7 separate regions of the Homo sapiens genome follow, and all the other regions are linked to region 1. Evidence: promoter capture Hi-C in 16 types of primary human blood cells and fetal thymus (Javierre and others, 2016). All regions are on one chromosome and are shown on one strand. The core of a region is centred on a gene start or on the middle of the fragment in contact, and the rest is flanking DNA. Distances in the headings are between cores, read along the strand shown. Region 1 holds the start of NDUFAF4 (NADH:ubiquinone oxidoreductase complex assembly factor 4). Region 2 overlaps LOC101927314 (a long non-coding RNA gene). Region 3 overlaps UFL1-AS1 (UFL1 antisense RNA 1). Region 4 overlaps UFL1-AS1 (UFL1 antisense RNA 1). Region 5 overlaps UFL1 (UFM1 specific ligase 1). Region 6 has its middle 4.8 kb from the start of FHL5. Region 7 overlaps FHL5 (four and a half LIM domains 5).

Region 1 (3,687 bases), core at 746-3,245:
TGTTGGCACTTCCTTGGCCTTTAATCAAACTTTACCCCTAACTAGAATCTTCCTGCCCCCAAAAACTCATCTGGTTAACTCCAACTGATCCCTCCTCAGGCCTGAACATAACTATCACTTCCTCAGAAACCATCCTTGATCCTCCCATTTCAAAGAGGTCCCTCCAATATACTCAGCAGTGCACGTACTTTTCCCATAATTATGGTCACATTGTTGCTCATTTGTTTAATGGCTGTGTCCTTCACAACATCATAGGCCCTGTGAAAATAAGGACTAGTTTTGTTCATCACTATATACAAAGCACTTGTGCCCAGGACTTACATAATACAGAATATGGATTTACACATAGGTTCCCATTCCTAATGTATTCTTTGATCCTTCTAATTTTAAATATCCTATCTGAATACATCCTTAAAAAAACAAACAGGAACACCCCACAAAATCCAACAACACCACTTACTAAAGGAGTCTCTGAGATTAGAACATACCTCAATCCACAGAAGAATGAGAAAATAATATTAAAGCTCTGCTTTTGTCACTCAAATGACAACCACTGGAAGTAATGCCTTACCAAATCCTACAAATTCTGAAATACTATGAAATAATTCACACAGTTGCTTGTATCAATACTTCCACAAGTTATTTTAGAATTCTGGTAAATATCCAGTGAACCAAGGCATAAGTGTCTTGCTGTCTTACACCAGTGTGCTTAAACTTTGCCAAGGCGTGTAGATTGATCACAACACACACTTGCAGAGCACTCTTTTTACTACTTGCCACACTTAATCATTTTCCTGAAGCCCCAAAATAAGTAAATTGTGTATTCACTTAATTAAACACACATTTACCTGCAAGGAAGACACAGGATCTTTGGAATCAACATACACATCTTTTAGAAACGACAGCAGCTTTTCATCTTTACGAGCAATCTCTCCTTTAACTTCTGGATAGACTAAGGAAAGGAAAAAAGTCACAATATTAAAATCAAGGAAAATTTCCTGTAATATCCTAAACGCTTAACACAAACGCTTTCTTTTATTTTCTTTTTTGAGTCGGAGTCTCGCTCTGTTGCCCAGACTGGAGTGCAGTCGCGCGATCTCGGCTCCCTGCAACCTCCGCCTCCCGGGTTCGAGAGATTCTCCCACCTCAGCCTCCCGACAAGCTGAGGCTACAGGCGCGCCACCACGCCCGGCTAATTTTTGCATTGTTTGTAGAGACGGGGTTTAGCCATGTTGGCCAGGCTGGTCTCGAACTCCTGACCTCAGGTGATCTGCCCGCCTCGGCCTCCCAAAGTGCTGAGATTACAGGCTTGAGCTACCGCGCCCGGCCTAACCACTTTAATTTTTTTAAAAAATAAACATAATCATTTGGACTGTTAGGAAAATACTTTAGATGGAAATCAAAATTCCAGGTCAGGCTCTGCGTCCATCGTCCAGTGAAGACCCCTAGAGAAAGCTCTGTGACCCTCTCGGATTTTGATTCCCTGTATCAAGTCCGTGACAGCAGCCGGCGAGGGCCTGGTTAGCGGGAGCACTGGCTGCTGCCTCTGGGTCTCGGAAGTAGGCGGGGCCGCCGACCTCACCGCGGGCGCGGAGGACAGTCTCAATGTCACCGGCCTGGCGGCTCCCCCTTCCAACGCTCCGCCAACCCGAGCGGCTGCGGCCGAGCAGGCTGACGCCGATCCCTCGGCCTCCGGACCCACGCTAGGGACAGCCGGGCAGCACAGGGACTCCGCGCCCCCGGGCCCCGAAACGCCCTCGCACCACTCACGACTAATCTGCTCTCGCAGGAGGCTGTTGGTAGAGGGGTGTCTGGGAGCGACAGAGGGCTTCATCTTGCTGATTTCCCGTTCCGCTCGGTTCTCTAGGTTGAAATTCCTGATACCGCGAATCACTAGTGCTCCCATCTCCTCATAACATTATGCGCTCAGGTTCAGGCCGCACGTGGGAACACCGGCGCAGGACAACTCCGGGACACCCGGAGCATGCGCACAAGTGAGGGGAAGCCCCGCCGCGGGCGCTTAAATGCGTGCCCGTCGCCCCCTAGCGCTCGGGAGGCCACACACCGCTTCTCTGCCCAGGGCATTTAAAAGGGAGCCCCTCCCTTCGGGGCGAGTGACGGCTCCCACGAGGGCCGCTTCCGGCGGGAGGTGGCGGGGCTTAAGTCCCCAGACCCACGGTTGCTTTTAACGCTGGAACTCCGAGGGAGTCACCCGGGAAGCTCTGTAAAGTTCTGTGCCGGGCCCTACCCCAGACTTTCTGATTTAATTCTTGTGGAGTGAGGCCCAGCATTGGATAAGACTCCACGTGATTCCAAAGTTTCAGTGAAGAGCTGAAAATCAAAGTCGTAAGGAAGTTGACCTTGAAGTTGTTTCACAGGGCAATGCCACCAAAGAGTTAGCCGATAAAAATGGAACTTACTGAACCAGGGTCAAACTGGGCTCTCAAGTTGCCCTTTCCTGCTTTTGTGAAAGGAAAATAATGAAAGGATGTTCCCTTTCGATGAGTATTTGTTCTCAGCCGCTCTCATTTAAATGCCTCTTATTTTCCTGTCCCCCCGCCTGATGCATTTTCAAGCCACTGTATTCTTTTTCCATTATTTTTTACATCCCGTTCTCATTTGACCTAATGGTATCGATTTTAGTTATACTTTCCCTTATCTTATTTTTGCTACTAATTTACTTCTCCATGCTACTAAATGCTGAGTCATTCCCTCTCCTATTTCTCTTCTCTCTTGCCTTCTTCATTCTTTTTAAGCCTCTGTGTAATTTAATGAAAGGAACAGACAATAAGACGTCAGAAAAAAAAAACAAACAAACAAAAAAACGAGTGTTACATTCACCTTCTCCGTCTCTCTCCATTTCCTGAATGGGTTACTGTAGTGCTGCTTTTATTTAAGACCCTTTAGAAATATTGTTATTAATCTAAAATAAAACCCACCAGGAAGGAAGCAGTAGGAAGGAAGTTACAGTATTTCTCTTACTGTGGCTGCAAAATCTATTTTTAGTGTTCTGATCTCTGCTTAGCAAAATGAAGTAGAGTGGATGTTTTTAACCAGCTTAAAGTAAGAAAATATTGATGTAAAGATAATCGAATAGAATAATAATAATAAAACAAGAATCAAAGAACCAAAATGAAGAAAGGGAAAGTTTTTTAAAAAGAAAACTAATGTAATCATTAAGTATAATGCTTAATCAGAGCAAAAGCACTGCAAGGAAGACGGCTTCAGCCACTCTAATTTAAATGCCCTTTATTTAATTATACTGAACATTTTTACAGGGATTGGTATTTGGAATTTATAGAAGCTGAAATCAGTGATCTCAGATAGCATTAACTGGGAAGTTATCCTGAAGGTGGCAGGCTGCTCCAAGATTTCTATCTTTGATACTTTTAAGCATGCTTGTGATTCAGGGCTTTTTAGGCACGGTATTTCTATTTCTATGGGTGCTAAGAAATTTTAATCTGCCTCATTATGTCTATGTGCTTTAATCATGGTAGCAATTCGACTCACTGCCTGTTAAAATATTTTAAAAGTGAAAATCTCATTTTCATAGAAATTCCACCGAACTTCGGGCAGTATGAAAAAGTAATGTTAGAAGTGACTGTCAGGACAGTAGGGATTACAATATGAAATAATTATTTGAATTCACACATTCCAATAGAGCTTGGATTCAACATTGAAAGAGCT
Region 2 (3,687 bases), core at 397-2,896, 510 kb after region 1:
ATGGTGTATATGTGCCACATTTTCTTAATCCAGTCTATCATTGTTGGACATTTGGGTTGGTTCCAAGTCTTTGCTATTGTGAATAGTGCCACAATAAACATACGTGTGCATGTGTCTTTATAGCAGCATGATTTATAATCCTTTGGGTATATACCCAGTAATGGGATTGCTGTGTCAAATGGTATTTCTAGTTCTAGATCCCTGAGGAATCGCCACACTGACATTTCTTAAAGCCAAACCTTTTTCTAAAATTATCAAACCATCCTTTGCTGGCATTAAATTCTCCAGCTTTAGGCCCTTTATCTTCTTTTTGCTATAAATTCTCATATAATGAGTTCACTTTTTCTTGAATCACATTAGAAAGACATAAAAGGTATGCCTTTCTTATAGCAATCCTGCACCCCATAAAAGCTGCATTTTTGATATGAGATTAAAAAGTATTTTGCACAAAGTGCAGGGTTATTGCACCTGCTGGAGTAGATGCAGTGACAAATGTATGAATTTCCTTTTCTTTTTTTTACATGCTGGATTCATTTTTCTTGAAATGGCAGGCAACTGCAGCTGCAGACTTCAATATGTGGTACTTGTCAAGCAATTTCACTTTTTCTTGTAATGTCATGACTTTCCCCTGCTTCTTGGGAAAACTTTCAGCATCACTTGTGGTACTTTGCATAGGTTCCATGGTATTACTCAAGGTTTACAGTATTGCAACAAACATGATGAAAAATACACAAAGACCATGAGAAATCACCTTTTACTGCTAAATTCATTTTATTGGAGAGAGGATCAATTCACTAAGAGATGATCAGCATCACATGGCGTTTTAAGCTAATACTAGCAACACTTGAGCACATTGCAATAGCAACAGGGGTTGGCTATGAAATTATTACAGTAGTACAATATGTACTACAGTTAATTTTATGTAGTTATGATTTAATACTGCATTTTTGTATTTTATTATATGTCTCTGGACTGCAGATGGCACCATGTATGGTCTGTAATGTTTGTGTGCATAAGTTTTGATAGTTTTAAAATGTTTATAATAGATTGGTATATACTTTAAGTGGTGAATGATAAAATGGACTGGTATCTACATATATTTTATATATTTATGACATTCCTAATTTTTTCTTAAATTTTTAAATATATATGGGCTACCTGGTTCATCTGTGAGCTTTTTCAAATTGTTGCAAATCTCCCAAAATTCTTTCAGTATATTTATTGAAAAACACCAGCATGTAAGTGGGCCTGTATTGTTCAAACCTGTGTTGTTCAAGGATTAACTGTAATATTATAACATCTTCAGTAAAAAGCTTTATTAAAAGTTTATTATTATTATTATTTTGAAACAGGGTCTCACTCTGCTGCCCAGGCTGGAGTGCAGTGATGCGATCATGGCTCACTTCAGCCTTGACCTCCCAGGGCTCAGGTGGCCCTCCCACCTCAGGCCCCTGAGGTTGCAGGCCTACAGGCATGCAACAGCATGCATGGCTAATTTTTGTTTGTTTTTTTTTCTTTTTTTGGTTGAGACGAGGTTTCACCATGTTGGCCAGGCTGGAAAACTTCCAAACTTCCAAATATTTTGGATATTTCAGTTTAAGAAAAGGATACTGTTTTCCTCCATATTTTCTAAAGAGAGAACTTGTTTAAGCAAATTAGTGGTTGAAATAATGTTGTAAGGAGATATTTACTTAGAAGAACTTAAACAGATTTTTGGAAATATTTAGTTATAAAAAAACAACAAATGGCCTTGTATATGAGGTTAGCATTATTTAGACTAGTACACAGTAAGATAGTACTTTTCCAAGGTAACATGGAATATTTTCATATATAAGGGATATATCTGTTACATTAGGCAAATATTTTAAATATGTATTACATATTATATATCTATTACTCCATATACATTCTAATAGAGAATTCTAAAAAGTTAAATAAAACCTTAGTGATTCTACAAATAAAGGAATTAAATAATTTATTAAAGCTTACCAATACTGTCTACTATGGAAATAAGCAGCACAACCTCAACTTAAATGTGCAAACTCAGATACCGTATCTGGCCCTCTGCAATATCTTTCATGAGCACAATCTTTAATTGATGTTCAGTAAAGGGAGATATTGTTCCACTTTTGGCTCACAGCCCTTAAGAAATCATTCTGAAAAAGTGTTGTGCTGTGACCCAACACTTTTTATTGAACTGCCAGTTCATGTGTGAGAGGTCCTTCTGTTTGCCCTTCAATGTCCTGGGGTTTAAAGGATAGCAAAAGCCTGACTTAATCACCAGGCCTGCAGCATGGCCACAGTGCAGAAGGACCATCTTTCTCCACCACTCTAATGTTCACAGTTCCTTTTGAGATGCATTGGTTCCCAGAGGTGTATTCTTCAGTATAAGCTGGCTTGGGTCTCGCTGAGCACTTATTGTCCTTTTCCTTTAGTATCTCTTCAACTCTGAAGAAAATACTTTGCTCAGCAGCTAATCTGCTTTCCCTCATTGCCTTGATATCATGCACAAAGAAAAAAAAACTTCTTAAAATCCTTTTACAAAACTTTGTCCATGGTAATAGAGTCTTTGACAACTCTTCACCACTGGGCAAGTGCAGGCTTTCTTTGGCACTTCACATTTTTCTGAGGGTCATAATTCCTGCAAATAGTCATACACGCAGGTTAACCATGCTTTCAACTTTCACTGAAGTTCTGTCCATTGATAGGTGAATTAATTTTTCACTATTAGAACATTCACTTTTGGTGGATTTGCCAGTGCTCAAGTGATTGAGTTGTGGACTTCTACATTCTACACTTTAATTTATTCTATGCTTGTATTTTTAGACAACAATCACTTAAGAATTTTTATTTTCATTTTATTATATTTGCTAGCAGTTAACCTTTTCTGATAAACTTTTCTGATTTTATACAAAAACCAAAGCTAAGAAAAAAAAGAAAAGAAGAAATCAATCCCTCAAGAGCATTACTGTGCTTGAAATTATAGGCTGAAAGCAACAAAATAGGACGCTGAGTGTGATGGAGACCCAGGCTTACGTGCTATTCAAATAGCTTGCTCTTGCCTGTCCAAGAGAGATCAGGTCCCTGCTTTTGTTAAATCGTGAATGACTCCACATTCTGAATCTGTAGGGTTGTTTTTAAATTGTTGAATTTAAAAATAATTTAAACATCATGAAACAATTTAAAAACATGAATTTAAAACATGAATTTAAAAACAATTTAAACATCAATTTAAAAACAATCGTGAAAGATAAACCTTGCTTTGCCCCAGTTCCAGATATTAAATGTTCTGCATAACAATGAAAATTGTGTTTAAAATGTTTTACAAATTTTATTCAATTATTGTTTTAAAGTAAAGTTTTTTAGTATGTGGCGAAATAAATACTTGTAGGTACATTTAGTTTGTTAAAAGAAAAACTTTAGAGAAAAAGTTAACAGGGTTTATTTGAGCAAAGGATAATTCGTGAATCAGGCAGCACTTAGAACCAGAAGTGGTTCAGTGAGCTCTGCCCAGTAGTGTCAGCAGTGATCTTTTATAGACTGAATACAAGCATAGAAAAAACAAAAAAAAAAAAACTGGAAAAATCACTTGATTAGGTACAAGTAGGAATCTGCATTATTCGGGCATAGTGTGATAAGGCATTTGCCTTTTTTGGGCATGATGCAATAAGGCATTTGCTTTATTTG
Region 3 (3,687 bases), core at 342-2,841, 510 kb before region 1:
CACTTTTTTTAAGTAATATGGAAAACCACGATCACATTTCCATCAACCTAATAGCTTTAGTTTTCATGTCTACAAGAACAGCTTAGTATCATCAACTATACAGGGTTATCAAGAAGATAAAATTAGATGGTATTTATAAATAAGTAGTATAATGTATTTTATGTAGGCCGTTCACCAAATATTTACCATACTTCCCATTTTTATCTTCAGGCATAAGGTAAAAACAATACTGATGCCCTATAGAAAGCAAATCCTATCACACCAGTTTACCTAACCCTAGGTTGTATCTGTGTAAATCTCCAAAGATATAGCTTTAGTTGCCTTAGTTACTGAGTAGTCTAGTAAGTATGACAGTAAATTAGAAGTCAACGGACCAGGAAAAAACTATAAACATGACAGTAACTTAGAACCAATAGACCAGAAAAAAATTGAATGAAGTTAGCGTGTCAAATGTTATAAAATGCATTTAAGGAGAACATTTTGCCAAGTAGGGTTCACCTAACAATGAATGCTGTTCATGCATGCATTGAAAATCTACAGTGTGATCAGCATTATGCTTCCTAATATGGGAAATTCACAGGAAGTTCCAAATGTGACCTCTACCCCCAACGACATGATATTTAATTGAGTTATAAAAACAAAAAACACATGAAAATTTAGGATACAAATTTAAACCATGTTTTTATTGAATTAAAATATAATCAACACCATGTGTAAGATTGTATTATTAGCTAGAAGAGGTTCAGATGAATGCAAAGTTCCTTAAATATCTTAGAAACAGGTTGTCAAGAATGGTGTCTGCACAGCTAATATAAGAGGTAACCCAGGGAGGAGGAGGAAAGGAATTACAGAGTGGGTTAATATGGAACTAGCCCCTTTCAAATTTCATTATTAGAATTTCTGTAGTAAAGCCCTTTTAAATTATCTCCTACTTTTATTGTTTCATTGTTCTAGGGTGTGTGTATGATTAAATTGTATGATTAAGTACTAAACTAAGAACCTAAATTTGTCTTTCCTATGATGAAAGAGAAAAAGCACTGTGGAAGTCTAGAGGAGTGCTCCATGATGAATTTGGGAGAAGAAAATGAAGACAATTGTGTTTGGGGCAGTCTTCACTGGAAGAAGTGTATAGGTTAGATTTGAAAGGAAGAGACTTTAAAACTAGTTGGCTATTATTACAGTAATAAAGTATGGAATGAGACCTTAAGTCAGGCTTGGATAGCTGAAACAAAGACAGTATTGCCCTCAAGCAAAGGAAACATCAGCAAAGGAACATGGTTAAGAATGTATATGGCATGTCCATGGAATAATGAAAAGCTAGTAGGGCTTCAGTAGCTACCCAAAGTCATGTTAGGCAGAGAGGATGTGGCTGGACCTTGGAGAGACTAAGGAGCCTGGCAAGGGGTGAAGATTTTGTTCTATTGAAGTAGGATTTTGTTCTATTGAAGTTTTTTTAATGGCCAAGAAACAATGGTTAACAAATAGGATCCTATTAATCATATTGATTCATTCAATAACTAGTCACTGGCAATTAACATAGTCAAAGAAAAATGCTAGGCATTGTAGGAAATAAAATTGATTAAGACATAGTACACTGCTCTCAACACCAGTCAAAAATGAGGGCATAAGATAACAAAAATAATTATAATCACAGTGGAATGTAAATTCTAGAAGGTAAATACATGACAATACTATGAAGGAAGTAGGTAGCCTATGAATGGTGGTAATTCATGATATTTAGCTGGGACCTTGAAGGATAGGTGTTATGTAGGTAAAGATAAGAAGAGAGGACTTCTGAGAGGAAAACAGTGCAAGCAAAGACTGTTCACTTCAAAAATATTGAATGCTTACTGTGTGCCAGGTCCTGGACTTTATACTGGGGTATAAAGACTTATCACTGTCTCTTCCCTTAAGAGCTTAACACAGAAAAGCAGAGTGCGAGTTCTCAGTGATACTTGGATAGTTCCATTCAGCTAGAGCGTGTATATAAGAGGAGGTAATGGAATGAAGCTGGAAAGACAAATTGAACCAATATTAATGAGAGTCTTAAATGCCAGGACAATATATACTCAGTTCTCCTGGGTATGGAAATAACTGAAGTCTGTTGTTAACAGTTTTTATCAGAAGGCAATGAAGACAATTGTGTTTGGGGCAGTCTTTGCTGGAAGAAATGTATAGGATAGATTTGAAAGGAAGAGACTTTTAAACTAGGTGGCTATAATTACAGTAATAAAGTATGGAATGATAATAGCCTGGGATAGCTGGTGACACCAGAGTAATTGTAAAAGCTCATGTGTGTCAAGAATATGTTAATGCTTTAATCATTTGCTAAGGAGTTATGCAAATCATCTTGCTTACTCCTCATAATATCTCTTCAAGAAGGGTGCTGTAATTATACCCCATTGACAGAGGAGTAAACTGAGCACAAAGACATTTTAAAAACTTTCCCATGTTTTACAACTAGTAAATGATGAAACTAGATTCAAGCATAGGCAGCCTCCAGAAACTGCTTTTTACCTACTGACTATAGTGTCAAAAACAGCTATAAATTTTGAACTCATATGTCTAAATAAAAAAATAGCTCAATTAACAAATACAAAGAAGTTTAAACACTTTTTTCACTTAAAAACTTTATCAGCTAAAAAAAATATACCATTCTTTTTCCAAATTTCCCTCACTGAAAGGTTTAGTGGTTTTCAAATTCAATAATAGAATTTTAACAGCAGAATGTATCTCAGAGAATAACTCAAACCTCACAACTTTACAGAAGAGGGCATTGAGACCAAGACTAAGGGAATGCCCAAAGTAAAAGAGCTAGCTAGGGGTTGAACTCACATTAAAATCCATACCTCCTGTTTTCTTGTCACTATAGTATAGCACTCTGATTTTATCATATCATATTTCTATTATGTTTTTCATAGTGAGCATGGAAGATCACAATACTGAGTCACAAAGGGAGAGATTTTTACTTATAAATTACAGAAAGATGTGTGAATGGTTACATATTTACTCACTAAAAAATCACAACAGTTAGTATATTAACAATTATGCCCATTATCCATTTTAGCAGTTTTGACACATGAATTCATCTTCCACAGTGGATTTTCGGATAATGATGTCAAATTGTTCTGCTTCCATATTATAACAAATCCTTTGTGAGAAGATAGATCTGTGTACTACTTGTTACCTCGCAGTGATGAATCAGTATCAGCGAGTTTTTTAGAGGGAGGAGAAGAGTCCACCAGAGGGTGTCATGCATTGTTGTCTTACATGTACATCTTTCCAGGAGAATTTCAACCTATCTTCTTTGATCACTACCAGGTGGTTTCCCCTTGCAGCTCCACAGTCCATCACTGGTAATAAAAGCATAACCAGACCAATTTGCTCTCATTTATTTTATGAATCATTGCCAGACTCAGAAATAAAGAACAAAAGGAAGTGTATCCTTTTTTGTGTCTTTTGAAATTGAATGAAATATCAATGAAATATCTTCATAACATTATGTAAGACAATGTCCTACATTGATGTGGGGCCAAAATAGCTTAAAGAACCTATGGCTTCAAAGCTAATGGAATGTGCCAAGAGGACCACAATATGAAAAGAATGAACATACTGAAAGTCTCAGAAAGCAATGGGTTTTCTGTCAGGAACAAGAGAAATCCAAATAATTGGGAATATTTTGTCACT
Region 4 (3,687 bases), core at 699-3,198, 400 kb before region 1:
TTCAGCTCCATCAGGTCATTTAAGGTCTTCTCTACACTGTTTATTCTAGTTAGCCATTCACCTAACCTTTTTTCAAGGTTTTTAGCTTCCTTGCAATGGGTTAGAACATGCTCCTTTAGCTTGGAGAAATTTGTTATTACCAACCTTCTGAAGCCTACTTCTGTCAACTTGTCAAAGTCATTCTCTGTCCAGCTTTGTTCCATTGCTGGTGAGGAGCTGTGATCCTTTGGAGGAGAAGATGTGCTCTGTTTTTGGAATTTTCAGTTTTTCTGCTCTGCTTTCTCCCCATCTTTGTGGTTTTATCTACCTTTGGTCTTCGATGTTGGTGACCTACAGATGGGGTTTTGGTGTGGATGTCCTTTTTATTGATGTTGATGCTATTACTTTCTGTTTGTTAGTTTTCCTTCTAACAGTCAGGTCCCTCAGCTGCAGGGAACTGCTTGTCCCTGCTGGAGTTTGCTGGAGCTCCACTCCAGACCCTGTTTGCCTGGGTATCACCAGCAGAGGGTGCAGAACAGCAAATATTACAGAACAGCAAATATTTCTGCCTGATCCTTCCTCTGGAAGCTTCTTCCCAGAGGGGCACCTGTCTGCATGAGGTATCTGTTGGCCCCTACTGGGAGATGTCTCCCAGTTAGGCTACACGGGGGTCAGGGACCCACTTGAGGAGGCACTCTGTCCATTCTCAGAGCTCAAATGCCCTGCTGGGAGAACCACTGCTCTCTTCAGAACTGTCAGACAGGGACGTTGAAGTCTGCAGAAGCTTCTGCTGCCTTTTGTTCAGCTATGCCCTGCCCACAGATGTGGAGTCTACAGAGGCAGTAGGCATTACTGAGCTGTGGTGGGCTCCACCCAGTTTGAACTTCCTGGCAGCTTTGTTTACCTAGTCAAGCCTCAGCAATTGCAGACTCCCCTCCCGCCAGCAGGCTGCTGCCTTGCAGGTCGATCTCAGACTGCTGCACTGACAGTGAGCAAGGTTCCATGGGGGCGGTACCCACCAAGCCAGGCACAGGAGGGCATCTCCTGGTCTGCCAGTTGCTAAGATCATGGGAAAAGTGCAGTATTTGGGCGGGAGTGTCCAGTTTTTCCAGGAACAGTCTGTCACCACTTCCCTTGGCTATGAAAGGGGAATCCCCCGACCCCTTGCACCTCCCAGGTGAGGTGACACCCCAACCTGCTTTGGCTCACCCTCCATGGGCTGCACCCACTGTCCAACCAGTCCCAGTGAGATGAACCAGGTGCTTCCATTGGAAATGCAGACATCACCTGTCTTCTGTGTCGATCACACTGGGAGCTGCACACCGGAGCTGTTCTTATTCGGTCATCTTGGAACGGAGATCATTCCTGTCCATTTTTAATTTAACATTTCAATTTCAGCTTCCCTTCCTCCAGGAATGAATGGGTCGTCTCCCTCCAGTCTCTACTCCTGATCCTCTCTCTTCTGGTCTACTCCAAGATTCCCATCAATTATTCCCCAGGCTCTTCCTTATCAAATATGTGTTCCTCTTGACCTATAATCATGCTTCAGTCTATTTTGTCTTTAAAAAACAACACAAAGTAAAGCAAACAATAATGCCATGCAGCATTTCTAACTCTACTATTTGTTTTTCATGCTACTTCTCACTCATGATATCTTGTTTCATCAGTTTTATAGTTTGGAATTTAGAGTTCAGTTAATCTAAATGTATGGAAATATTGAGGGAGTCTGAGTTAAATGTAGATATTTCTAAAGAGTAATTTTATTCTCTTCTGCCAAATACTCATGATCACATTAAATTAATTTTTAGATTTATGAGTATAAAAATACAAATAACAATTCCATATAAGCCAGGGCTATATCTAGGAACTCTTAAGAAATACATTATATTTGTCCTACCTAGAGTCAGGGCCAAGAACAAACAAATAACTTTGTCATGTGTCTTTGCTGGTGGGTAGACTTCTTTTTTTCCTGGTTTGTCTTTTCACTGTGAAAATATCCCTTTGGGCCGGGCACAGTGGGACACGCCTGTAATCCCAGCACTTTGGGAAGCCAAGGCGGGCAGATCACAAGGTCAGGAGATTGAGACCATCCTGGCCAACACGGTGAAACCCTGTTTCTACTAAAAATACAAAAATTAGCTGGGCATGGTAGTGCATGCCTGTAATCCCAGCTACTTGGGAGGCTGAGGCAGGAGAATCACTTGAACCAGGGAGTCAGAGGTTGCAGTGAGCCAAGATCATGCCACTGCACTCCAACCTGGTGACAGAGCAAGACTCTATAAAAAAAATCCCTTTGAAGGAAATGACTATATAAACCACCTTAGGTAGGCACAAGGTATTACTGAATCATGAAAACACAAGTCTCTTGGCATCATAAAATACTGTCATGCAGTCACAAGTCTGGTATTGGCTTACCATACCAAATTCCTTCTTTTTAAAAATTTTCAGACAATAGGGAATTCCCTTGTGAATTTAAAGAATTTGTTGAATTATATATAGCACATCTCACAGTAGGTGATCTAGTTTTTTATGTTGCTGGAAACAGAAATCTCCATGTTTCTTTATCAGTAGAGATGGGTGTACTATCTGTCAAGATAATGCTGTAATGAATAACTGTGATTACAGAGAGCTCCAAAATACCAAGTTTCATATCCTGTAAGATATTTATATTTTAATTTTAATTCATTTTCTGGTAGAAAAAAATTAATCCAAGATTCTTTACCATTTATATTAAAACAACAGGTTAAAAAAAACTATGTCACACAGTTAACTATGAAAATTATATTTAACACAGTTTCCATTTCAGAGAGATGAGAAAATTAAGCCTTAAAAAATGCAAGCAAATTGCTTAAGGCCATAAAAAATTAAGGGATAGAACTAATATGTGCATTTAGAGTTCCTTTTTTAAAAACCCACAGTAAACAATACGATTATATCCTCTGACCTCCAATAACACGAATATTGACCAGACAGTATAAAGTAGCTATCTTTAGAATAAAAATAGAAGACCTACAAAAGAAACCAAGACATAATAAAAGAGGAAGAATCTATTAAAAAAAGAAGAAAAATTTTAAAATAATAGAATGGAACTTATAGCTGTGAATATCTTGCAATTGCTCCTGACTTCCAGTAATTGCAAACAAAGTAAATCAGATCAAGCTTCAGGCTCAGAGCAACTATTAATACTTGCAAAATATTTTTTTAAAAATCTGTTCTATGTCATTTGAACATTAAAGAGGCAGGGGTGAATTAAAAGATCAAGATATTTAGGGGAGAAAATGAAAAAGACAGAAGAGTTCTGCAACTGGTGCCATTTTTTTTTTCTGTCCACGCTCATATCAGAAGAGGCACCTGAGAGAATCAGGAGCTTTGCAAAACTTTGAACAGATTCATGGTGCCAAGGGAACAAAAATTGGAGTTCATTGCCTGCCTAGGACAGGCAAGTGGCAAACATCTGGGGCTTTGAGACCACAAAGAAATATACTCTAGAAATCCGTGTTTATGATTTTTTAAGTGGGCTTTTATAAGCCTTGATTATATCAAGGTGATCTGGAATTACTAGCCACCTACTAGAAAAAAATATATAAATCCTCTTTGGTGGAAGATATTACACACTTAAATTATCTCTACTACTTTGTATAAAATGGGTAGTTTATATTAAAAAATAATTAGAATAACAAGGAGACAAGACAACATGATCACAACCAA
Region 5 (3,687 bases), core at 777-3,276, 360 kb before region 1:
TGAGTATATAAACAACTTTTATGCTTTTGGAAATGCTATGTGTTTTTCCTACCAAAAAAAGCATGTTTTATTTTAGGAAATGAAAAATAATCCTGTGCATTTAATCACTGAAGAAGATCTGAAACAAATCTCCACTTTAGAAAGCGTTAGTACAAGTAAAAAGGATAAAAAAGATGAGCGAAGAAGGAAAGCAACAGGTAATAAATTGTTAACAAGGAATATTCAAAGTTTTGTATTTGTTGCAGTGAACTTTGCATTTATCACATTTATTATGCCCTTTGAAAGGCCCTTTGTTTTATTGATTTACCTTTAAACAGCTAATATCAACCAAATATTTTGCTAATGTGTTAAGTTTTATATAATAAAATGGAAATATTGGTGATTATGTTTTCTGTTTTCTTTTGTGAAAACTTTATTTTATCATCATGCTCATCTCTTGTTTTTCCCCATCCTCTGTCTATGTTCCAGCCCAGTAGCCCTTTTTTGTTTTGTTTTGTTTTGTTTTGATTCCTAAACTTGCCAGGGTCATATTCACCTCAAAGCTTTTACACCAACTGTTCCTTTTACCTGGAATGCCCTCTCCCAGACTGTAAGTAACTGGTGTATTCTTTTCATTCAGAGCTCGACTTTAAATGCCACTTCCTTAGAGAGGCCTCCTAACCCTTCGGAATAGTAGCCACAGTCACTCTCTGCCACCTCATTTTGTCAGTTTATTTGCATCACTTTATCACCATGATGTGTTTTATTGTTTGGGAACTGTGTTGATCTCATTTATTGTTGTACTCTTGCTACATACCCAAAGCACCACTTGATATATTTTAGGTGTCCTATAAACATACTAATTAAATGAAAAAATTTCTGAAGGACATATTTTTACATTTCTTTTTCTAATCTAAAGTCACTAGAAATTATTCTAGGTATCACTGATATGCTTGTAATTTGCAATGGAAAAGTAACATGTATTTCCATAGTTTTTATAGTAGGAACAGTGCTGTTAGTGCTTTATCGGAACTGAAGAAATTCAATATTCAACATTTTTCATTAATAAATACACTTCTAATTCTTTGAGATAGTTTATTTCCTCTTCCAGAATCTTTTTCTTAAAACTTTTCAATGGCATTATGAAATTTCTCTATTCTTCCAGGAAAATTAATAAATTACTTAAATCACAGTAATATTCATAGCTATGGATATTTTATCATATATTTGAAGATATAGTTATAAATTTGCCTTACTCAATTGATGACTTATGTCAGTATAACTAGTCTATTTAATATTTTATTTCTTATTAAAAGTTAAGGGTCATTTGGTGTTTTATTTTCAGTGATAATGCTATTGTATTATAATTGTTTAATTACAGTGTGTGGAATCATGTCAATCATGAATGTTCCCCCCCATAGGAAACTTATTGTCAAATATAAAAAGCATGTTCACTTTAGACTTATATTTTTGAAAATAGAATTTTTTTATTATAAAAGAAAGGGAAAAATAATAGAAGTTTAAATCTAGGATGTGATGAAATCTAAGGCAAATCTATTTAGAATTTAGAAAAAGATCTTTAGTAATCACTTTATTTTATTAAAAAGACTAATCTTTTACTTATTTTGAAGTAATATAATATAGTTGTAATATGTTCAATGGTTTAAACCCGTTATCAGTATTCCATTTTGTAGAGTAGATATTTTACATGTCAATATCAAAGAGCAGGGAAATGCTGAAGTAGTATTTTTTATTTTTATTTACAGTGTTTGCATTTGTTTCATAATTTGTTTTTTTAAGTCTATAGTCAATAGGTAATAATACTTTTATACTTAACCAATTAATATTCATGGTCAACATTTATGAAGCACGTGTTATGTTTCACGCATTTCTGTAAAGAATATATACATTAATGACACAATGATCCTTGCTCTTCAGAAGTTTATAATCTGTTTGAGTAGCAGATGAGTCAGGATATCTCCTCTAAAAACAGGTAATAATCTTTCAACAAAGAAGGCAAAATAAGAATAATTAAATTTGTGAAGTCTTATAATAGAAGGTTATTGATGAGGCTGTGGTAACACAGATGAGCAAAGGAGGACACATTTCTTTTGGGGAAGGTAGAAGAGGAGGTGAAGGAATGGATTTTTGTTAAGAAAATATTGAGAGTTACAGGAAAGAGGTGACGTTAGAGAAGGAGAAAGAGAATGCATTTAGAGCAGTCAGGCTATCTAAGGTAGATTGCTCAAAAGATTTCATATTTTATTATTAATTTTTTATGTATTGGATTTACTAAACTTTTAATAGGGAACTCCAAATTTAAAAAGAGTCTAAAAGTTTCTTTATTTTGCCTTTATTTTTTCTGCTGTAAAGTTAAATACAACAATATAGTGTCATTATTTTATAAAAATGATGATTTAGTTAGGTAATGCTAACTAATGTCATTTTCCCACCAGAGGGCAGTGGAAGCATGAGAGGAGGAGGTGGGGGCAATGCCAGAGAGTACAAAATTAAAAAAGTCAAGAAGAAAGGAAGAAAAGATGATGATAGTGATGATGAATCTCAATCATCCCACACTGGTAGGTAGCTTTTCTTTACTTTTCCTTGGTGTATGTGTGATATTTGTAACATATTTTCTTAAGATGTATATAATTAGGTATATATGCTAATACAGGAAGTCCTTATTTTGCAGTGTTTCAGTGACACAAATTTCAGTTACCACACTTTAGTTAAATGTTATCAGTCCAGTAACAACACTGTTTATCTTAAATATTAGATACAAAGATACTTCGGTATATTAACTGAGTATAGTATAAAGTAGCTCTTCAGTCCACAAATCAGTACATAAATAACAGATGCATATCATGATCTGTGACAATCACACCACTTATTGTATAGTTTGTCAATGATTGGTCACTGCACATTGGTTATTCCTTATGCACAAACAACAAAGCATGTAGCTGTATTGCCTAATTGTCTCCCAGTGATAAACGCTATGATATTTTACAGAAATGGATAATCAAAAAGAGAATTGGCCAACAAAGATAAAAGCGTAGCAAAGAAATGAAAAGTGATAACACTGAAAATAAAATTGGAATCAAGCATAAATGGAGTTATAGAGGGAATGGCTGACTGTGGGAATGTTGACACTGCCATTGCTCAAGAAAATGAGGAAAGTGGTTATGACAAAAAGGATGAAAACATCTTAGAGGATGTAAAGTGGGGAAAAACTTCACAATTCTTGGAGATATTCCAAGACATTGAAAAGGCAAGGGATAAAACATTGGAAGCTGATTCAGAGTTAGAAAGTGGTATGACAATTTATAAGGCATAGGAAAGGTACTTGGTCCATACTGCAAGTTAATTGATAATAAGAAGAAAGCAAGCACTGTTCAGACTATTCCTGATAAGTATTTTACACAGAAATAAAACACTTTCATTCTCCATGTTCTAATGTGTTAAAAATACAGCATATTAAATTATAAACATTAGTTTTATTTTTCATTTTCCTATACATTTATAACCAACAGTAAAAGCTTTTAATGTTTACCAAAAATTTTTAAAGGCCACAGAACAATTGTAATTTTTCCTATTGATTATTAAGAAAGCTTTGCATGGTTTCACCTTACCATGATCATTTTTATGGTCTTCCACTGCCATGCAAAACAAGTATTAGGATATTTTTGAAAAGTAGACTTGCAAATTTAA
Region 6 (3,687 bases), core at 842-3,341, 340 kb before region 1:
CTTCCTAAATACAATGGGGATACAGGCATTGGGTAAATACAGCCATTCCAAATGGGAGAAATTGGCCAAAACAAAGGGGCTACAATCCCTATGTCAAAGTCCAGCAGGCAGTCAAATCTTAATGCTCCCTTTGACTCCATGTTTTGCATCTGAGTCACACTGATGCTAGAAGTGAGTTCCCATGGTCTTGGGCAGCTCCCCCTCTGTGGCGTTGCCGGGTACAGTCTCCTCCTGGCTGCCTTCATGGGCTGGCATTGAGTGTGGCATTTCCAGGCACATGGTGCAAGCTGTCAGTGGAGCTACCATTCTGGGGTCTGGAGGACAGAGGCCCTCTTCTCAGAGCTCCACTAGGCGGTGCCCTAGTAGGGACTCTGTGTGGGGGCTCCCACCCCACATTTCCCTTCTGCACTGCTCTAGCAGAGGTTCTCCATGAGGACCCCGCCCCTGCAGCAAACGTCTGCAGGGGCATCCAGACGTTTCCATACATCTTCTGAAATATAGGCGGAGGTTTCCAAACCTCAATTCTTGACTTCCGTGCACTCGCAGACTCAACATCACGTGGAAGCTGCCAAGGCTTGGGCTTGCACCCTCTGAAGCCATGATTAGAGTGGTTGGGATGCAGGGCACCAAGTCCCTAGGCTGCACACAGCACGTGGACCTGGCCCACGAAACCATTTTCTCCTAGGCCTCTGGGCCTGTGATGGGAGAGGCTGCCGTGAAGATCTCTGATACGCCATGGAGACATTTTCCCCCATTGTCTTGGTGATTTAACATTTGGTTCCCTGTTACTTATGCAAGTTTCTGCAGCTGGCTTGAATTTCTCCTCAGAAAATGGGTTTTTCTTTTCTATCACATTGTCAGGCTGCAAATTTTCCAAACCTTTATGCTCTGCTTCCCTTATAAAACTGAATGTCTTTAATAGCACCCAAGTCACCTTGAATGCTTTGCTGCTTAGAAATTTCTTCCACCAGATACCCTAAATCATCTCTCTCAAGTTCAAAGTTCCACAGATCTCTAGGGCAGGGGAGAGATGCCACCAGTTTCTTTGCTAAAACATAACGAGAGTCACCTTTGCTCCAGTTCCCAACAAGTTCCTCATCTCCATCTGAGATCACCTCAACCTGGACTTTATTGTCCATATTGCTCTCAGCATTTTGGGCAAAGCTATTCAAGTCTCTAGGAAGTTTCAAACTTGCCCACATTTTCCTGTCTTCTTCTGAGCCCTCCAAACTCTTCCAACCTCTGCCTGCTACCCAGTTCCAAAGTCACTTCCACATTTTCAGGTATCTTTTCAGCTGCACCCAACTCTACTGGTACTAATTTACCATTTTCATGCTGCTGATAAAGACATACTCAAGACTGGGCAATTTACAAAAGAAAGAGGTTTATTGGACTTACAGTTCCACATGGCTCGGGAGGCCTCACAATCATGGCAGAAGGTGAAAAGCGCATCTCACATGGCGGTGGACAAGAGAATTTGTGCAGGGAAACGCCCCTTTTTAAAACCATCAGATCTCCTGAGACTCATTCACTATCACAGGAACAGCACAGAAAAGACCTGCCCCCACATTTCAATCACCTCCCACCAGGTTCCTCCCATGACACATGGGAAATATGGGAGTTACAATTCAAGATGAGATTTGGGTGGAGGCACAGCCAAACCATTTCACAGAAACAAATGGGATTTTTTCTATCAAGAAGTAACTGATGTGAGTTGGGAGGGAGTAAGAGGATGGAAGATTTACTTTCTTTCACTAAGACCAATGAAGAATTTCCCCCAATACATGGGAGATGTAATAAATGCACACACAAAACTCCCCTGGGATGTACATTTTCCACACAAATCTGGGAGCACTGTTCAAGTGGCTATTTAAATGACCTGCAAATTCACACAAGTTGCTCTATCTTGAGGACCCTACTAAGCGTACAACAGAATAAATAGATCCAGGAGAGGCTTCTTTCAAACCTTCTAAGAATGAAACTGACTTTCAGGCTTTCAGAAAAACAATTTGTATTACACTTACATCATAAAAAAGAAGGAATAACCACTGTAAACATGTATTCAATGTTTATAAGTTCCCAGTGTTGTATTATTTGTTTTATCAAACTTGCCCCTAGTTGCATCTCTATTTCTCTGAAGTGATTAGTAGTAAGACAATCTGGGTGTTTGTTTTAAGGAGCAGGAAAGACAGGATTACATTGATGGTGAAATGGAGGAAAGGGAGAACATGGTGAATTTATGGACTTGGCCTAATTTACTCGATCGTGTATGACAGCTAAATACTAGGAAGGCACATATCAACTTTAAAGGTATGTTTTACTTTCAAAGAAATAACAAGTCAATAATTACAGTTAAATATAGTGTCTTGGTAAAAGTACACAGAGGGTGTTGTGACAAGAAATGAAATTTAGACTGTGTTGCACAATGGGGAGGCTGGAAATAACACCTGAACCAAGAGTCCAGAGAGAAAAAAAGAAGGATTAGCCTTGGTGAAAATGAGAGAAGGGAAGGAGAGCATATTAAGGCAGAGAAAAGGAGGTACAGAAGTACTATGACGCTAATTAGAATGAAATAATGAGATGTGGGGAGCCAAGAAGTCTGAGAAATATAATAACTGATCTGGGGAAGTAGTGTAAGATAAAGTAGAGAGAATAGGGGGGTTTTGAAATGCCTTAAACACTAAGCTACAAAGTTCAACCACTATCTCAAAAACATGGAAGCCTTTAAAAGATTCAACTAACCAGGGAAATTAAGTAATTACATTTGTCTTCTAAAAAAATTACATTCTGGAAAGCAATTTGGCAATTTACCAAAATTCTTTAAAATGTACATATTATTCGTGAAATTAATGTCTTCCTTTTCTGAGAATTAAAATGACTAAAAAATGTATACGAGTCTTTTTTCCCAGCCTCTAGTAGAGAGGAACATGGACACCTTCTCTTGCACAGAAACAGGCCAATCTTGGCTCTGAAATAGTCTATTCAGATACTAGTCTGCCAAAGAAAAACTGCGATCTGACTAGTCAACCTAAGACAAAAGTCTCAAAGGTTGTCTCATGTTTTGTGTTACTCAATGTAAAGAAGTAAAAGTGCTTTGTCAAACTGTTTTACTACTGAGCCTGTCTTTACTCATCTAAAATGCAGTCCTTAACCTAATTCTATCATACAGACTTCAGAGTTGGGTAAGAACTTGAAGACTTGACACATAGAACATATTGTTGTTTAAATACAACCTAATAAATGTAAATGTACTTAAAGTCAATGTTCTAGATTTTTCTCCTTTCCTCTTTTCAGTCTTAATCTCAGTCCTGTGATTTGTATGTTTTAAATGCTGAGTGTATCTTTTGGTGTTGAAAAAAGAGAGAAAAAAAAGGAGAGCTATTCCATTATGTATTTTATTACATAGCAACTATTTGTTATAGCCACTTTAAAAATATTTTATTGGCTTGTCCATCAGTGAATGACTGGATAAAGAAAATGTGGCACATCTACACCATGGAATACTATGCAGCCATAAAAAAGGATGAGTTTGTGTCCTTTGCAGGGACATGGATGAAGCTGGAAACCATCATTCTCAGCAAAGTAACACAAGAAGAGAAAACCAAACACCACATGTTCTTACTGATAAATGGGAGTTGAACAATGAGAACACATGGACACAGGGAGGGGAACACCACGCACCGGGGC
Region 7 (3,687 bases), core at 562-3,061, 320 kb before region 1:
GCTTTTCCATTGTTCTGGCTGTCTTTGACAGAGGCATAAGCACTAGGGGCTTCTAGTTGGCTATCTTGCTGCTATCTCTCTGACCTTTAATACTTTTAGAAAGAAGATTAACCGTTCTCCTGATCAAGGTATCAAACTATTTATTATCTTTGACAGTACCAAAAAGTCATACATACATGTAATTCATTCATTCATATTTTCATTCATTTATTGATCAGTTAGATCAAGCCAATATAAACCTACTGAAAAAGTCAAGGTGTTCAATTTTCTTTATATCATGAAACTCTCTATTGTGCTAATGAACACTAAAGAGGCTCCTATTGACAAGGAACTGTCTATCATCAATTTTGACCAAATGCCTCTTAGTATAGAATTAAAATGCTTCCAATTTTCTTTAAGCTTTTTTGTCACATAAAGATCAACACTTCCTTAGATTCATGGGTATAATTTGCATTTGAAAAAAATCCGACACCAAGCTGTCATGCTATCTAAATTAAGATTTCATTTATAAAAATGATTTCTAGTCTTGTAATTACATTCAGTCTATTCATTTGTTCCCTTGAACATTTTGATAGTCACACTATCACAAAATATTCTAATTTTTTTTTTTTTTTTTTTTTTTTGAGACGGAGGCCCAGGCTGGAGTGCAGTGGCGCAATCTCGGCTCACTGCAAGCTCCACCTCCCGGGTTCACGCCATTCTCCTGCCTCAGCCTCCCTAGTAGCTGGGACTACAGGTGCCCGCCAACACGCCCAGCTAACTTTTTGTATTTTTAGTAGAGACGGGGTTTCACCATGTTAGCCAAGTTGGTCTCGATCTCCTGACCTCATGATCCGCCCACATCAGCCTCCCAGAGTGTTGGGATTACAGGCATGAACCACCGCGTCTGGCCCAAAATATTCTAATTTTTGACCTATAATTGTTTTTTAAATTAAACAATTATACTCCCATTTTTTTCAATATTTTTCTTATGTTTCCTTATTACCAAAGTGATAGATTACAGTATACAATTTGAAAGGTACTGAAAAGTAAAATTTTAAATACTCCTTAACTTCAATTAAGAGCCTTAACATTTCAGCATATTTTCTTCTAAACTTGTTTCTACTTAAAAAAAAAATTATATAATTGAGGTCATACTGATTATTCTATTTCACACTTTTTTTCCCACTTAGAGAATTATAAGCATTTCACCATGCCATTAAATACTCTTCCGAATACCATGTTAATGACTTCTAGTATTATTTTTAAAACCATTTAGTAAATATATATTCTTTAAAGTAGTGTACAGAAAGTTCTTTTCAAATCCTAATTAAACTTAAGCATACTTTAACAAACACCCAGCAAAATACAATTAAAAGCAGAAAATGTACTTTTAAACTTGAGATTAGGGATCAGCAAAATGTTTTCTACAAAGAGCCAGATAATACTTTAGTCTTCAAAATTACTCAGCTCTACTGTTGTACCTGGAAATAAGCCATAGATAGTATGATAATGAATGAGTGTGGCTGTGTTCCAATAAAACTTTACTTATGAACACCAATATTTAAATTTCATATGTCAAAAATATTCCTCTTTTGGTATTTATCATTTAAAAATGTAAAAGCGATGCTTAGGTTTCAGACCATACAAAAACAGGCAGTGGCTAGATTTGGCCCTTGAGCTACATATAGTGGCAGATCTCTACTGTAGAGCCTGATTCCAAGAACCCTGCCTTCCCAGGGTTTGAGAAATTTCTGTGAACATATGCATTCATATATATTTTTAAGAAGAGGTAAATAGCTTTTATTATATGCTAAATAGTTATTAAATATAAAATGGTTAAGAGTCACTATTCCAAATAATATATATAAAGTCACTTTATAAACCATAATTTCTTATTAAAATATATACTGGTACTTCACTTATAATATTCTTCACTTAGATACCAAATGATCTGAAAAAGATTGATTAGTAGAAATAAATTTATGTTATTATCAGAATTCCACCTGGGAAAATAATATCCAGAATCCAAAAAGCTAATAAACTTTAAAGAGAAAATAGGTGACAAGTTAAATTTTCGAAAACACTTAAAATAACAAGTAATGGTTATTTCAGTGAAGGTAGTTGGCATATTTATTGCTTTTGATTTTTTAGCTGAGCCAAGAGATTATTTTCATTTAAACTATAATAACTAGCATCATCAGAGAATAGGTCCTGCTGCCTAATTTAACATCCGGTTAACGAAAGTTAATATATGTATGTCTCTCTCATTCCTCTCCTCTCCCCGTCTCTCAATACACATACACATACATACAACAAACAGACCAAGAATAAAACTAGCTTTATTGTAACATTTGTTTAGATTGGAAAGTTCCACTTAATCATGTATATCTCCTTTCAGAATTCTAAAGCAAATGAGAAATAGATACATAAATCACGTATGGATCAATTTATTATCAACCTCATTATTGTTAATGCGGGAGTAGAAAACAAAACGTGCATGAGAGACCAAGCCCTTCCCTTCCCAGCCTGAACTGAGCTTCTTCCCAGAAGGAGTAGAGAGCCTGGATCTTACAGTGCTCCCTCATGAGCTGGGACTGAGCAGTTGGAGTGAACTCACTGCAGAGAGGGAACACAGGCCCATGCTTTGGCAACTTCCAATGGAGTAAGGGAAACAATGTGGCTCCACATGAAGTGCCTTTTGCCCAGTTACTTACCAGTTAAGTCACTCCTCAAGTGGCATAGAATGAGTGAATACTTTCAAAAGAGAGAAACTCCTTTAAAGGGCAAGCACAGAAACCAGGGGGAATGAGAAGTTCTCTCTTACGATCTTTAACTCAAAAAAAAATTCTTGATCTGTTTTAAATTTAGGATGTCAGTGAAAATTGTTGAAATACCAAGAGAGACTTTTAGTTAACAGAATACGTCATAGATCTACCTTTTCAGTATGGTGTTTAGTTGGCCAAAAAGAAAACAGTGGGCCAAATAAATCCATAGCAATGTGTAGTTAAGTTTTTAAAGCTCTGACATGTAAAAAGAACTAGTTTTATATGTGACCTTTTTGTTATCCAAGTATGGATACCACCCTCCAGTTCTAGTGGTGCTTGTGAGCTTGCAGACCACTCCCCTGCTCATGCTAAGTCACTACCTCCACAACTGTGTGGACGGCCCTCAGCTTAGGAACCTCCACCTACTTTGTCTTCGAGACTACCTTTTATTCAACCTTCAAGGCACAGCTCTAAAAGAAGCTTTACCTGAAGTTTTCCAGAAACTTCCTAAAATACCCAGAGTAGCCTGTGCATACCTTCACACTTTTCCACAGGACCTCTCTCATTCTTCTCTCACTCTCTTCCATCTGCAAATATTTACTGAGCCTTCAGCGTATGCTGGTAATAAACTAGACACCAGGAGTCTGCTGGCAAACATAGTATCTTCCCTGTCTTTTCTGTTGATCAGGAAACACAATTAGCCAGAGATAAAGCATACTGTGGGTGGTAAAGTACCAAGAACCACACGAACATGCAGCCAGGTCCTTATCTTGCAGAAGAGTGACGGAGTGAAGAGAATATTTGAATGTCCCTCTCCCAGGCTACCACGTAAGCTTTTCATAGGTAAAGACCTTTACTTTACTGCCAAGCACCATGGATGGCCCAGAGTTGGCCCTCAAGAGCTTTTTATGAAACCTACAGAACTAAAGTGTATATATTC

What was found. Contacts are between HindIII fragments. The CHiCAGO score rates a contact against its expected background, and 5 or more counts as called.
Region 2: a contact is called between a fragment that was not itself captured here and the fragment with the promoter of NDUFAF4 in region 1, in 1 of 17 cell types (endothelial precursors). The highest score is 6.3, in endothelial precursors.
Region 3: a contact is called between a fragment that was not itself captured here and the fragment with the promoter of NDUFAF4 in region 1, in 1 of 17 cell types (naive CD8 T cells). The highest score is 5.4, in naive CD8 T cells.
Region 4: a contact is called between a fragment that was not itself captured here and the fragment with the promoter of NDUFAF4 in region 1, in 7 of 17 cell types (total CD8 T cells, naive CD8 T cells, total B cells and 4 more). The highest score is 8.2, in total CD8 T cells.
Region 5: a contact is called between a fragment that was not itself captured here and the fragment with the promoter of NDUFAF4 in region 1, in 15 of 17 cell types (naive CD4 T cells, megakaryocytes, naive CD8 T cells and 12 more). The highest score is 14.1, in naive CD4 T cells.
Region 6: a contact is called between a fragment that was not itself captured here and the fragment with the promoter of NDUFAF4 in region 1, in 14 of 17 cell types (naive CD4 T cells, naive CD8 T cells, activated CD4 T cells and 11 more). The highest score is 12.9, in naive CD4 T cells.
Region 7: a fragment that was not itself captured here is called in contact with the fragment with the promoter of NDUFAF4 in region 1 in 1 of 17 cell types (naive B cells); the score reaches 5.8 in naive B cells.

The regions. Positions count from the first base shown.
Region 1 is chr6:96,895,896-96,899,582 of GRCh38, forward strand. NDUFAF4 (NADH:ubiquinone oxidoreductase complex assembly factor 4) reads right to left here and starts at 1,996. Exons shown (of 3, transcript NM_014165.4): 1 at 1,771-1,996; 2 at 849-952. The coding sequence starts at 1,906. It also overlaps a transcript of KLHL32 not described here. RefSeq lists an enhancer at 1,819-1,918. The HindIII fragment of the contact is 8,617 bases long and covers 1-3,687 here.
Region 2 is chr6:97,402,523-97,406,209 of GRCh38, forward strand. The region is part of intron 1 of LOC101927314 (a long non-coding RNA gene); the gene reads left to right. Among named protein-coding and RNA genes, the nearest start is that of MMS22L, 120 kb to the left of the region's middle. The HindIII fragment of the contact is 671 bases long and covers 1,312-1,982 here.
Region 3 is chr6:96,387,625-96,391,311 of GRCh38, forward strand. All of the region lies in intron 1 of UFL1-AS1 (UFL1 antisense RNA 1), which reads right to left. Among named protein-coding and RNA genes, the nearest start is that of UFL1-AS1, 130 kb to the right of the region's middle. The HindIII fragment of the contact is 4,389 bases long and covers 1-3,687 here.
Region 4 is chr6:96,499,109-96,502,795 of GRCh38, forward strand. The region is part of intron 1 of UFL1-AS1 (UFL1 antisense RNA 1); the gene reads right to left. Among named protein-coding and RNA genes, the nearest start is that of UFL1-AS1, 21 kb to the right of the region's middle. The HindIII fragment of the contact is 2,375 bases long and covers 762-3,136 here.
Region 5 is chr6:96,540,459-96,544,145 of GRCh38, forward strand. UFL1 (UFM1 specific ligase 1) reads left to right here. Exons shown (of 19, transcript NM_015323.5): 11 at 77-197; 12 at 2,436-2,558. Among named protein-coding and RNA genes, the nearest start is that of UFL1, 20 kb to the left of the region's middle. The HindIII fragment of the contact is 2,973 bases long and covers 541-3,513 here.
Region 6 is chr6:96,556,445-96,560,131 of GRCh38, forward strand. No RefSeq gene overlaps it. Among named protein-coding and RNA genes, the nearest start is that of FHL5, 4.8 kb to the right of the region's middle. The HindIII fragment of the contact is 6,486 bases long and covers 1-3,687 here.
Region 7 is chr6:96,572,929-96,576,615 of GRCh38, forward strand. All of the region lies in intron 1 of FHL5 (four and a half LIM domains 5), which reads left to right. Among named protein-coding and RNA genes, the nearest start is that of FHL5, 12 kb to the left of the region's middle. The HindIII fragment of the contact is 2,828 bases long and covers 398-3,225 here.